Regions from separate parts of the Homo sapiens genome. Here regions 1 and 3 are each linked to region 2. Evidence: promoter capture Hi-C in 16 types of primary human blood cells and fetal thymus (Javierre and others, 2016). All regions are on one chromosome and are shown on one strand. Each heading gives the region's core, a stretch centred on a gene start or on the middle of the fragment in contact. The rest is flanking DNA. Distances are from core to core; before and after follow the strand shown.

Evidence for each region. The method cuts DNA at HindIII sites, captures the fragments that hold promoters and counts their contacts. A CHiCAGO score of 5 or more calls a contact.
Region 1: a fragment that was not itself captured here is called in contact with the fragment with the promoter of IFT70A in region 2 in 1 of 17 cell types (megakaryocytes); the score reaches 5.6 in megakaryocytes.
Region 3: a fragment that was not itself captured here is called in contact with the fragment with the promoter of IFT70A in region 2 in 1 of 17 cell types (megakaryocytes); the score reaches 6.2 in megakaryocytes.

Annotation. Positions count from the first base shown.
Region 1 is chr2:177,703,071-177,706,941 of GRCh38, reverse strand. The region is part of intron 13 of PDE11A (phosphodiesterase 11A); the gene reads left to right. All of the region lies in intron 4 of PDE11A-AS1 (PDE11A antisense RNA 1), which reads right to left. Among named protein-coding and RNA genes, the nearest start is that of PDE11A-AS1, 32 kb to the right of the region's middle. The HindIII fragment of the contact is 883 bases long and covers 1,450-2,332 here.
Region 2 is chr2:177,617,404-177,621,412 of GRCh38, reverse strand. It overlaps IFT70A (intraflagellar transport 70A), which reads left to right and starts at 2,671. Exons shown (of 1, transcript NM_152275.4): 1 at 2,671-4,009. The coding sequence starts at 2,712. IFT70A-AS1 (IFT70A antisense RNA 1) reads right to left here. Exons shown (of 3, transcript NR_198966.1): 2 at 3,893-4,009; 3 at 2,175-3,125. RefSeq lists an enhancer at 2,369-2,598. The HindIII fragment of the contact is 8,599 bases long and covers 1-3,847 here.
Region 3 is chr2:177,721,259-177,725,214 of GRCh38, reverse strand. The region is part of intron 12 of PDE11A (phosphodiesterase 11A); the gene reads left to right. It overlaps PDE11A-AS1 (PDE11A antisense RNA 1), which reads right to left. Exons shown (of 5, transcript NR_136171.1): 5 at 1,926-2,126. Among named protein-coding and RNA genes, the nearest start is that of PDE11A-AS1, 50 kb to the right of the region's middle. The HindIII fragment of the contact is 3,324 bases long and covers 1,023-3,956 here.

The DNA.
Region 1 (3,871 bases), core at 642-3,141, 86 kb before region 2:
ACCTTACTAGCTATGTTTTACACTTCCTCAATTTTACAAAAAAAAACAAAAACCGAGGTCCCCAAATCTCAGGTTGCTTGTATAAGACTGAACAACATTCACACATATGAGGTAGGTATTGAGTCACTAGTACTAGATTTCAGAGAGTTTTTTTGCATCCTCACATCACATGATCAAATCTGCCTATTCCAAGGTAGTGTGATGCGTTTTTCTCAAGACAATTAACTTTGTACGCAGTTTATCAGCTCATGGGATGTCAGGGGCACTGCACCTACCTTATGGAGTCATTTTTGCACTTAGGACACTTAATGCCACCATTACCCAACCTCCGTTAAGATTTCCCTTGACGATGAATGCTGAAAGAGGCTTTTTAGCATCATGGTCAAGGAACTACCTTTTTATTGATTAGAATGAGATTTATTCAGTGAGTGTGCCATTGTTGAGAAAATCCCTTGCAAGAAACCTATCTTCTTTTCTTGTTTTTTATTTCCCAGTAAGTGAGTATTTTCTATATTCAAGATGCTGTGCTAGGAATTGTGGGAGAAATAAAGAGATATAGCAAACATCCCTTCTCTTAAAGTGCTCCCAGTCGAATTCTAGTCTTTGAAGTGATTTGAAAATGGGATTTAAATGCACCAATTATTATGCAGCAAAGTATATGCTACCTTTTTTTCATATATAAGGCTATAAAAAAACAGGAGACATTTAGCAAGGGACAAATTACTATATAAAATGCAAAATGCCTCTACAATAAAAAGTGTGGCTTTCGTTAGAGCACAATTTGATTTATTCTCTTAGCCTTTCTGACAAGTGATCCTTCGCATTTTCATATTTTGTTCTTAATTTTTAAGTATTGGAGTGCATACAATGAATGATCAATAGGTAGAGAGGGCAGCAATACCACAGTGCTTTGAAATTGCTCTGTTCACACCTCTCCCCTGTTTTCTCTAGGGACAGCGTTCCCCACTCATCCTTCTCTCTATTACAGCTGCCCCTGATGATTAAATATCAGTACCAAGCAGCTTTGTAGTATATTCTCCTAGGAGACTTCTTCTATTCATTTCTAGCATAATCTCTTATACTCATTTCTTGGGAATGAAAACCCATCTTGTCGCTTTCGGCCAGGTCCCAGAAGTGAAATACTGGGGCACATTAATCTGCCATGACAGCCTAATCCCATTCCTCACCATCTCCCAACAACTCTCAATTTCCTAATTACCTTTCATAGTTTTCCTTTTTAAAGTTTCCTTTAAGTCACAGCTGCACACTGCCATTCAGTCTCTTTTTCAAAGAATATGCATATCTAGGGAAGTTATGAAGGTACATTTACATTTGCACACATTTTTGGTGCCTGTGCAAAGTGCCAAATGCCTATAGGGAAATTTCCACCTTGACTTTTCTTTTTAATAAGTTTCTCCTCATTGAGCTGCCTATCCAAAATGAAAAGCTTTAGTATGTTAAGATGACCTACCATCAATAATGCACATCATGAATACTTACATGTATAAAGGTATTTGTACTTATGGAATTTGGATTCTCTTCTCTTCCTCTCTCCATACACCCTATGTATATATAATCATATTTTCACAACTAAAGGATGTGTGCCCCAAAGACACTTATATGATGGATATACTTAGCACAAACAATTAAAATGAGGTGTGCTGTTAAAGTCAATTTTTTCCATATGTGATTGATCTCAGGGTTTTTTTTTCATATTTTATGTGAGAAAGTAGAAGCATACCTTTATAAGTGGAAGTGTATTATGTGAGAGACATGACCTCTTTAAAAATGGTTTTACAATCAGCCAGGCACAGTGGCTCATGCCTATAATCCCATCACTTTGGGAGGCCGAGGCGGGCAGATCACAAGGTCAGGAGTTCGAGACCAGCCTGGCCAACATGGTGAAACTTTGCCTTTACTAAAGATACAAAAAATTAGCTAAGCGTGGTGGTGCATGTCTGTAATCCCAGCTACTTGGGAGGCTGAGGCAAGAGAGTCGCTTGAACCCAGGAGGTGGAGGTTGCAGTAAGCCAACATCGCGCCATTGCACTCCAGCCTGGGTGACAGGCGAGATTCCGTCTCAAAAAAAAAGAGGTTTCACAATCAATTAAAAGTAGATAATGCTGCTTGTTATGTTCCCCTCCCACAAAATCACAATGCATTTTCACATATTGCCGCCTCTGGAAAATCCTTACCATAAATAAACAGATTCACTTTTTAAAGCCAGCATTTTCCAAACTTATTTGGCCACGGAACCCTTTTTACTTCTTCTCTTAATGCCATTTAACATTCAGAAGAACTAGTATTCTGTAGAATACTTTTTGATAAAGCTTATCTTCACAGATATGTTTTATTTATTTATTTTTTTTGCCACTTATATCAAGACTGTAGACTTGGCTCTTGGTGGTCCCAGGAAGTTCCCAGTGTGTAACAGCAGATACAGGCAGCATTCCTAATGGGCCTTGGCCTGAGACAAAAGGCACTGAGGGCTTTGGCAGTCTAGAAAATCTGCCAGGGGCCAAATCTAATAGTGTAAATAAGGGATCCATTTGGAAATGGAAGTATTCTTGCTTAGATGGTTTTACTTTAAAAAAACCCCTCAAAGTTGAGTTAGTACCATGCTCCATTCTCTGAGGGCTAAGATGGCACCTTGTTTGCAGAAAAGTGAGCATTTTTAGTGCAAGGTTGATCAGAGAAAAATTCCTGACACAATTATAGGGGATTGTGAGCTTCCTGAAGGTCAGAACATGTCTTATTTCTCTTTGTATTCCACATGCCTGGGGCCTGACATAATAGTTATCAATGCTTATTGGTTGAATGAATGATAGATGAATGAATGAATAACAAAGTCTCCCCACACTTTCATGGCATTAGTCTGGTTCAGTGGCAAAATCTACCTATTTTCTGTGATTGAATCAGTATTGTGTGAGGCTGGGCAGAAAGTAAGATGGAATTACAAAAGAGAACAAAGAGGGAATCTGACGAGGAAGATGGTCAAACCATAGACAGTGGCTGCCTTTGCACAAATACTGGGAGATAGAACACACCAGATCGGAGACATATGGATATGGGAGAGAGGCCTCCATCCTACGCACAGGAAGGAGCAGTGCCTCAGAAGCCATGGTGTATTTGTTAAAAGCTGTTGTTATCGTCCCCATCCCCACTCCCTTAAAGGAGAAAACATTCCTTATTCACCAAAACAAAGAAGATACAGAGTGACTTCTGATCATCTAGCTGATGCAGCTTTTGTGGAGTCTGTTAACCCAACATGAATAAGGGAAGAGATAACATTTTGTATCTTGACTAGATACAAAAGATTCACACTAGTAAGTGAGGTGCATGTGAGCATGGCTGATTCATAGGAATGATCACAGGAATCAGCCTGTGGTTAGCAATGATACTAATAGAATTCTGAATTAGATTTTGAAATCTTCTTTCATTGATAACAATCAGCTTAGTAAAAATGGAGAATCAAATGTCAGAAATGTATGTTATAATTATCATTTTCATTATGTAACAAGAAGCTTAAAAACTTGGATTCAAATCTGGAACTGGTACAAGCTAGCTGTGTGACCTTGGAAAAGTTACTTAACTTCTCTGAGCCCTGTTTTCCTCATGTGTAAATGAGAAAATAATACTTATATCATGGTCATTGTCAGGACTAAATGCTATAATGTATTAAGTTGTTAATATATAGACTACCGCATGGTAGATACTAATGGTAGCTTTATTAATAATAATATTAGTATTATAAAATATGCTAACACACTTATTATCAACCTCCCAACTTGAACTGTAATCTCTCGACATAGTAACTACTGTAAGCTTATTAGACAAGCAACCAATATTTTTTAAAGCACTTACTCTATGC
Region 2 (4,009 bases), core at 1,422-3,921:
AAAAGTCAGTCTATCACAGCAGCAGTGATGGTCATGCCAATTTCACAGTGTGATTTGTGCACTCATTTCATTTTGAAAATGACCCTGCCCTCCATCTGTCTAAGCAGAATGTCCTGCTCTTTTCAAGCCAGGCCTCTGGAGCAGCATCACATGAAATAAGGAGGAAGAGACACAGAACGGCCTCCCTCCTGCCCACTTCAGCCACCATGCTCACAGGTACCCACACAAAGAGGAGAACCCCAACTGAATCCTGGTAGGGATCCCAGAAATTTGGAGGAGAATATAGTCCTTTTATTTTCATACATTTTCAAGAAGCCATTTGAAGATGATGTAAATACAACTCTGCAAAACAGAGAGAAAGACTAATGAAGGGCAATTTCCCATTCCCATGTTGTCATCTCACCTTAATTTAATAGCAAATTACCTAAGGTAACAGTACATATATAAGAATTTTAAAATACTGAGCCTTGCGAGGCACAGTGGCTCACACCTGTAATCCCAGCACTTTGGAAGGCCAAAGTGGGAGGGTTGCTTGAGGCCAGGAGTTCGAGATGAGCCTGGGCAACATGGTGAGACCCTATCTCCATTAAAACATTTTTTAAAAAAGATTAGCCAGGCATGGTTGTGCACCTGTAGTCCCAGCTACTCAGGAGGCTGAAGCATGAGGATCACTTAAGCCCAGGAGTTCAAGGCTGCAGTGAACTATGATCATGCCACTGCATGTCAGCCTGAGCAACAGAACAAAGCCCTGTCTCTAAAAAATAAATAAATAAAATACTGAGCCTAAATTCCCAAGGGAGAACCATCAGGCAGCCTGCTGTAAAGAAGTCGATGCACCCCTTCCCCCAATTTATTACTGAGCAGTATCCTCTACCCATGTACCTCCTTGGGCTTAAGACTCTAAAAGGGTGCACCAAGAGATCAGATTGAAAGAAGCCTCAGAATAGAGTTATAGTAATATTCCACAGTTGCTTTCTGTGGGGTCTTAGGTGAGCCAAAGTCCCATTCAATCCTGAAATGGGTGCAGTTTCCCTTTCTTGGAATTGATGCACTGGGAAGCTCCTTGTCTAGTTCCAGCCAAAAAGACCCAACTCTGCCAATTCCTGGCAAGGGAGAAGACTGAGTAAGTACATAAAGTCAGTCATATGATGATATGAGCAATCACACACCTACTAAAAATCTCCTTCCAGTGATACTGGGTAAATACGAACTACACAACTCCAGTAGTCACATCTGCTCACAGCTGGAATCAAGGCCTAGAAGTTCAAAGTTTACTAACTACACAAAGTTAGTTCATTGTTTTAATGGAGAAACAAAGACAATAATATTCCTTATACACACTTAGCACCAAACAATGGGCCCTTACAAACTCACGTACATGAGATACATGGATTGGGTTATTCATCAGTCACTATTTCCTATTGAAATTGGTTATTGGATATCATGGTTCAGCCCCTACCTACCTAGATGTGGCTTTAAACAAACTATTAATTTAATAGTTTGATTTAATTAATGTAATACTTAAATCTTTAAACCTTTCTAGCCCACAGACTTCTTAAACTACAATATGCAGAATGCAGGCTGCTTATTCAAATTAGAAATACTATATGTAAACAGTCTCTAATAGAGGTGCTATATGATATGGTTGACATCGTTATCAACCGTATGATAGCTGTGAAGTTTATATACAGAAAAGATTTATGGGCAGTAACACTATTATGGATGCATACAAAGGATTTGCAGTAATTATGTAGCAAACAACACACTTTTACTTGGATTAGGTTTATATTAGGTGCTAGAGAGACCAATGGATATCATGGGAGATGACAAAAGATACTGATTTCTTATTGGCAGAGACAGTTGGAGGACCACAGCAATGGATACAACCAAGTGTAAACGCCAACATATACTCAGTAATTTTTTTTTTGTCATGGAAAAGGAGAGATACTGCGATCAAAAACAGATCCTCTCCCAGTACCAATTAAGATTCACAGCACTTTTTCCTTATTAACCTCTGGAAACCACCAAAATAAGAAGGATTTCTGTTTGCTGCTGTATTCTGTTCTTACAAACTGTGCCCTCGGGGTAGCATAAGAACCTGCTCTAATTCCAAGGGAATTCAAGGAGTTAACTCCCTTTTGCCATCCCGCTCCTTTTATTAAAAGGTCCTTTTATTGTACTGACGATCTCTACTTTATTAAAAGTAAGCCAAACGCCAGCATTAGTATAGACCACACCAATGCACAAGGCTCAAAATCGCCAGAACATGGTGCCGGAAATCTTCCTCCGATTCGCTAGAGACCGAGGTGGCACAACAGACACAGAGAGTGCCCCTCATCTTTAGGGGGCAGGGAAGGCGAGTGACCGTGCGTCCACACGGGCCGCGAGTCGGGTCGGTGCAACAGGGACTACGCCTCCCAGCATGCAGTGCGGCCACGCCTGCGCAGCGGCGCCACAGGAACGATGCATGCCGGGACCGGGAAGATTCAGTCTCTGAACGGCCCGGAGTAGTCGTCTTTCCCCTTCTGACTGCCGCCACGCTGCAGTCCAGAATATTTGAAGATCAAACCGAACTTGAGAGACTAACGAGAACGGTCCCTTTTTATTCCTAACAGATTCCTTCCGTGGCAAAGTAACCCGTCGTCTTCCGTTTCCGGTTGCCCGGTTGCCCTGTTGCCGTGGTAACCGCACGCATAACAGCCGTGGTGGTTATGGCTGGTCTGAGCGGCGCGCAGATCCCCGACGGGGAGTTTACCGCGCTAGTGTACCGGCTCATCCGCGATGCCCGCTACGCCGAGGCGGTGCAGCTGCTGGGCCGAGAACTGCAGCGGAGCCCCAGGAGCCGTGCCGGCCTGTCGCTGCTAGGCTACTGCTACTACCGCCTGCAGGAGTTCGCGCTGGCGGCCGAGTGCTATGAGCAGCTGGGCCAGCTGCACCCGGAACTGGAGCAGTACCGCCTGTACCAGGCCCAGGCCCTGTACAAGGCCTGCCTTTATCCGGAGGCCACTCGGGTCGCCTTCCTTCTCCTGGATAACCCCGCCTACCACAGCCGGGTCCTCCGCCTGCAAGCTGCCATCAAGTATAGCGAGGGCGATCTGCCAGGGTCCAGGAGCCTGGTGGAGCAGCTGCTGAGTGGGGAAGGGGGAGAAGAAAGTGGAGGCGACAATGAGACCGATGGCCAGGTCAACCTGGGTTGTTTGCTCTACAAGGAGGGACAGTATGAAGCTGCATGCTCCAAGTTTTCTGCCACACTGCAGGCCTCGGGCTACCAGCCTGACCTTTCCTACAACCTGGCTTTGGCCTATTACAGCAGCCGACAGTATGCCTCAGCACTGAAGCATATCGCTGAGATTATTGAGCGTGGCATCCGCCAGCATCCTGAGCTAGGTGTGGGCATGACCACCGAGGGCTTTGATGTTCGCAGTGTTGGCAACACCTTAGTTCTCCATCAGACTGCTCTGGTGGAAGCCTTCAACCTTAAGGCAGCCATAGAATACCAACTGAGAAACTATGAGGTAGCTCAAGAAACCCTCACCGACATGCCACCCAGGGCAGAGGAAGAGTTGGACCCTGTGACCCTGCACAACCAGGCACTAATGAACATGGATGCCAGGCCTACAGAAGGGTTTGAAAAGCTACAGTTTTTGCTCCAACAGAATCCCTTTCCTCCAGAGACTTTTGGCAACCTGTTGCTGCTCTACTGTAAATATGAGTATTTTGACCTGGCAGCAGATGTCCTGGCAGAAAATGCCCATTTGACGTATAAGTTCCTCACACCCTATCTCTATGACTTCTTAGATGCCCTGATCACTTGCCAGACAGCTCCTGAAGAGGCTTTCATTAAGCTTGATGGGCTAGCAGGGATGCTGACTGAGCAGCTTCGGAGACTCACCAAGCAAGTACAGGAAGCAAGACACAACAGAGATGATGAAGCTATCAAAAAGGCAGTGAATGAATATGATGAAACCATGGAGAAATACATTCCTGTGTTGATGGCTCAGGCAAAAAT
Region 3 (3,956 bases), core at 1,435-3,934, 100 kb before region 2:
CAGTGTAGCTAAAAATAAATTTAACTCGCTCATCAATTCTCATCTCTGGAATGTGACTCGGCCTATGGTAAAATGATGCCCTATTTCTTACCACCAATGGGCACTCATGCTTTTGGCACTCCTGAAGATTCTAAAAGCCTTTCAATGTTTTGATCTTATCAGTGATTAAAATTCCATTCCAGTGATCTCATATTTCCTGTCTGTGGGTTGTGTTAGAACCAAAATTCTCTATTAATCTGGGGGGAAAAAAGAAAGAAAAGAAAAGAAACTCACCATGTACCAACCATTGGATTCAACCTGGGTCATGTCATAAGGCTAAGAAAGCACAGCGTGTGTGTGCTGAGGCTTCCTCTAGATGGCGCTCCAAGGCAAAGTTTCTCAGCTGGTTTCCAGAAAAGGGGGAAAAAACCTTACCCACCTTCCTTGAAAGTGCTTCTTTTCTTCTAGCACAGGGAATACTGAGGTACACACCCCACCACAAAATAAATGTTTTTCCTAAAAGAGATAGCAACAAAACCAGTCTGTCGGAAAAGAGCATCTCCCATCAGGATGGGCCTGTTTTATGACTGCCACCTTGCATACCGTGCTGTTAAAGTGAATAATAGTGTTCTCCGTGTGACCTTAAATCTGTGATTGTGTATTTTTCCAAGCCTATTGTCTCTGGGAATGGGGAAATGCATAGTTGTGTGTCACTGCTGAACAAATTTTGGCACCACGTACAACAGGACAAGCAAATTATAAATATATGCCCCAGCTTCCTAACCTTTAACCCTAAAATCACTTCACGGGTGGAAAATAAACTTATTGACTCAGCATTGTGTTTTGCAAAAGTATTCAGGTTCATGTGTAGGTAACAAAGCGGTTTTGTTCCTTTAGAAATTAAAAAAAAAAAGAACTACTGTGTAGGACAGGCAAATTGATATAAAATGATGAACATTTTATTCACTGGGAACCCTGTTAATGACTTATTAATTTGTTCCATGCCTCTGGTCTGAAATTTCACATTTATAAATTTGAAAGCTTCAATGTTATTCTTTGTTTTTAAAAAGATATTTAGATAGTTAAAATTTCCCAAATACTTTGAATTCCTCTGACAAATACAGTAGGTAGTGACAGTTATTATTTGTGGTTAAAATGAGGAAGAAAACCTGCAGATGAATGATCATCATATAAATTTTCTTTACTAATAGAAGTTTATAGAACAAATATTCCATCATGCACATACATAATAAATAAATTATAACTATAAATACATGATAAAAGATGAGGGACATATTTCTTATATTCACGATGTAGACTAGATATCGGAAATGACTCTGCTTTTGTTTGTATTCTGTAAAATAAAAGGCATGTAGTGGTGCCAAGGTTGCAGAGACATTTTTTTCGGTTTTATAAATGATGTATGAGCTCTGACAGATTTTCCAAGGGGAAAAAAAAAGATTTCTTTAAGAGTCAGTATTCTTTACTATCCCATAAATGTACTCATTAGCACTTTGAGCCATGCCCTGCATCCTGTAGGGTATCAATAAAGATTAATTGAATGAGTGAATTTAGTTTAGGGTAATATTATTCAAGGAACCATGTTGCTCAGTGTCCAGTTAAAAAAAGCTATAAAATGGTGAACAACTATTATTGCTTGAAATCTTGTTCTTTCTTCATATCACACTAAGGTTCAGCTAGGGTTCATATAGAATATTATGATCTTGCAGAATTCACTGGATATGAAAAGAGAAGAGCACATGATCACATTAAAATTTATGGTGGTGCAGGCAGCGTGGCGCTGGTGGGGAATTGCAGTTAAACACTAATAATAACCAAGTATCACAGCAAACACATTGACACCCCCTGACATTTACTGGGGGCTTCTTAAATCTTAATGTGGAGGTAGCGTGTTTAAATCCATATTTGTGTTGTCAACAAGGTTATTTTCAGAGATAAGCCAAACCATTTTATTGATAATTCAAACTAGAAAGCAGAAGGGATGTTTAGGGAGAAAATCCATCCTATTTACCAGCTTGAGGCTGATGTTCTGTCCTCTGACTGCAGTTTCCAGAAAAGTCCTTGATTTTTGAGGTAGAAAATTCATTCTGGAAGATCTTAGAAGCACAGCTGAAACTCCTCCCTCCCTGTCCAAGAAATACAGAACCAATTGAAATTTTAAATAAAATATTTTTACTCAATAATCAGAATCCTAATCTCAACAGAAATCAAATTCCTTTGTAGACTGTAACACTGGAAGTTACAGAGAGATCTAGATGTTTTGTTCTGTAACTGACTGAAATAAATTAATAAACAGTAATCATATTTGTAATCATCAAACATCATTTTTACATTGTATTTCCTTATCAAAAAAGTAGTAACTTGTTATATTTACTTTAAAATAAATGGCAGCATTATTGTAATACTATAATAAAATCTACATGATAGAATAACCAACTCTTTAATCTTCATGCAAATGTAACCTACAAGATGGCAAATTTTTAATTTAGAAAAGGAGTAATTTTTAAATGTTTTTGCAGAACATCAGCACCAGACACAATAAATTAACTATGGGGCTAATCAATTTGAATACTGTGTTTAAATTACATTTAAGACTCCTGTCTTTTAATCATTTAAAAAAGGTTTCTATTTTTCTTCTCTCTGACTGCATCTCAGAGCCCCAATTAGGCACTCCATGCTTCCAGCTGACATTGCCTTTATCCACATTTATTTTATAAAAGAAAAAAGGCAAAGCTGCACATAATTAAGAACCTGGTGTGCTAATAACCAAACATACAATTGGGCAGAAGGATAATCCAATCCATTTCCTCTCACAGGAGAGTAACCTCCATAACTCACTTTAAGCGCTGCCATTCATGAGTTATGGGTCATTCCCTTTCTAGTGAAAATAAATTCTCCCGCACCATCAGCCAGAGCTGGGTATTTTTCTTAGGACATGTAAATTGTAAAAGTGTATGAACATAATCATGTCCGACGTTACAGGGAAAGTATAACCTCTTGCTCACGGACATAGGCTTATACGTAAATGTATGTGGTTTCGAGGCTGGGGCTGCCTAGTTACAATATAGGATTTTTGATTAAAGTGAATTTATTCTTGAGATTTTTATGATGTTGGTAAACTGCTTAATCTGTCGCTTTGTGTTTTATGACGCCAGCCAAATCCTCCAGGTCAGGGAGACCCAGCAGCAGAGCCATGGTCATTTATCACAGCCTCCATTTTCCACGGTGTATGATTTCCTAGTGGCACTTTCTTGGGACTGAAACCTGGCACCTAAGGGTGTTAAGTTGGGAGCTATAAAAAGTTTTAAATTTTCATGGGTCTCAAGTTTAGTTTCGGCTGAATTATGGCTAATAAAAATTTGAGCTTTGAAGAAGCCTCAAATTCTTGAAATTCACCAACCTGGGCTCTGTGGCACTTTGAGAGATCTGTCTTTCTACACAATTAATGTGCAGCAAGTGATCTGCTTCATTTTCTGTGGTCATAAACCATATGTTATATTATATGCAGTTCACTGGTAATTTATCAGAAATAAAATATAAATTATATTTCTAAACATGGACAAAACATACCGTCCTTGTCCTCAAAAAAAATCATAAAGCACAAATATTGTTAGGGTTGAAAGCTAAGTCCTTAAGAATCTGATATTTTTCTTTTGGTTCCTTTTAAAATGCATTATATGTGCTATATACATACAGCTATGTTTATTTATTATCTTTTGATGTAGAAACCTCCACTTTCTCAAGTCTTATTATTTAGTTGAAAATTTCCTTATATTATTTGTATATCTTTTTGTACATTTTATCAAAATAAGACAGCAGAAATATATTGAGCAAATTTTATTTGACCACATTAGGACTTCTTGAGAATGAAATAGTGTTGACAGATACCAGAGGTTTGCTTTGAAATACGCTAGCAAACAAAACAAAACAAACACACACTGCATGTGAAGAGACAG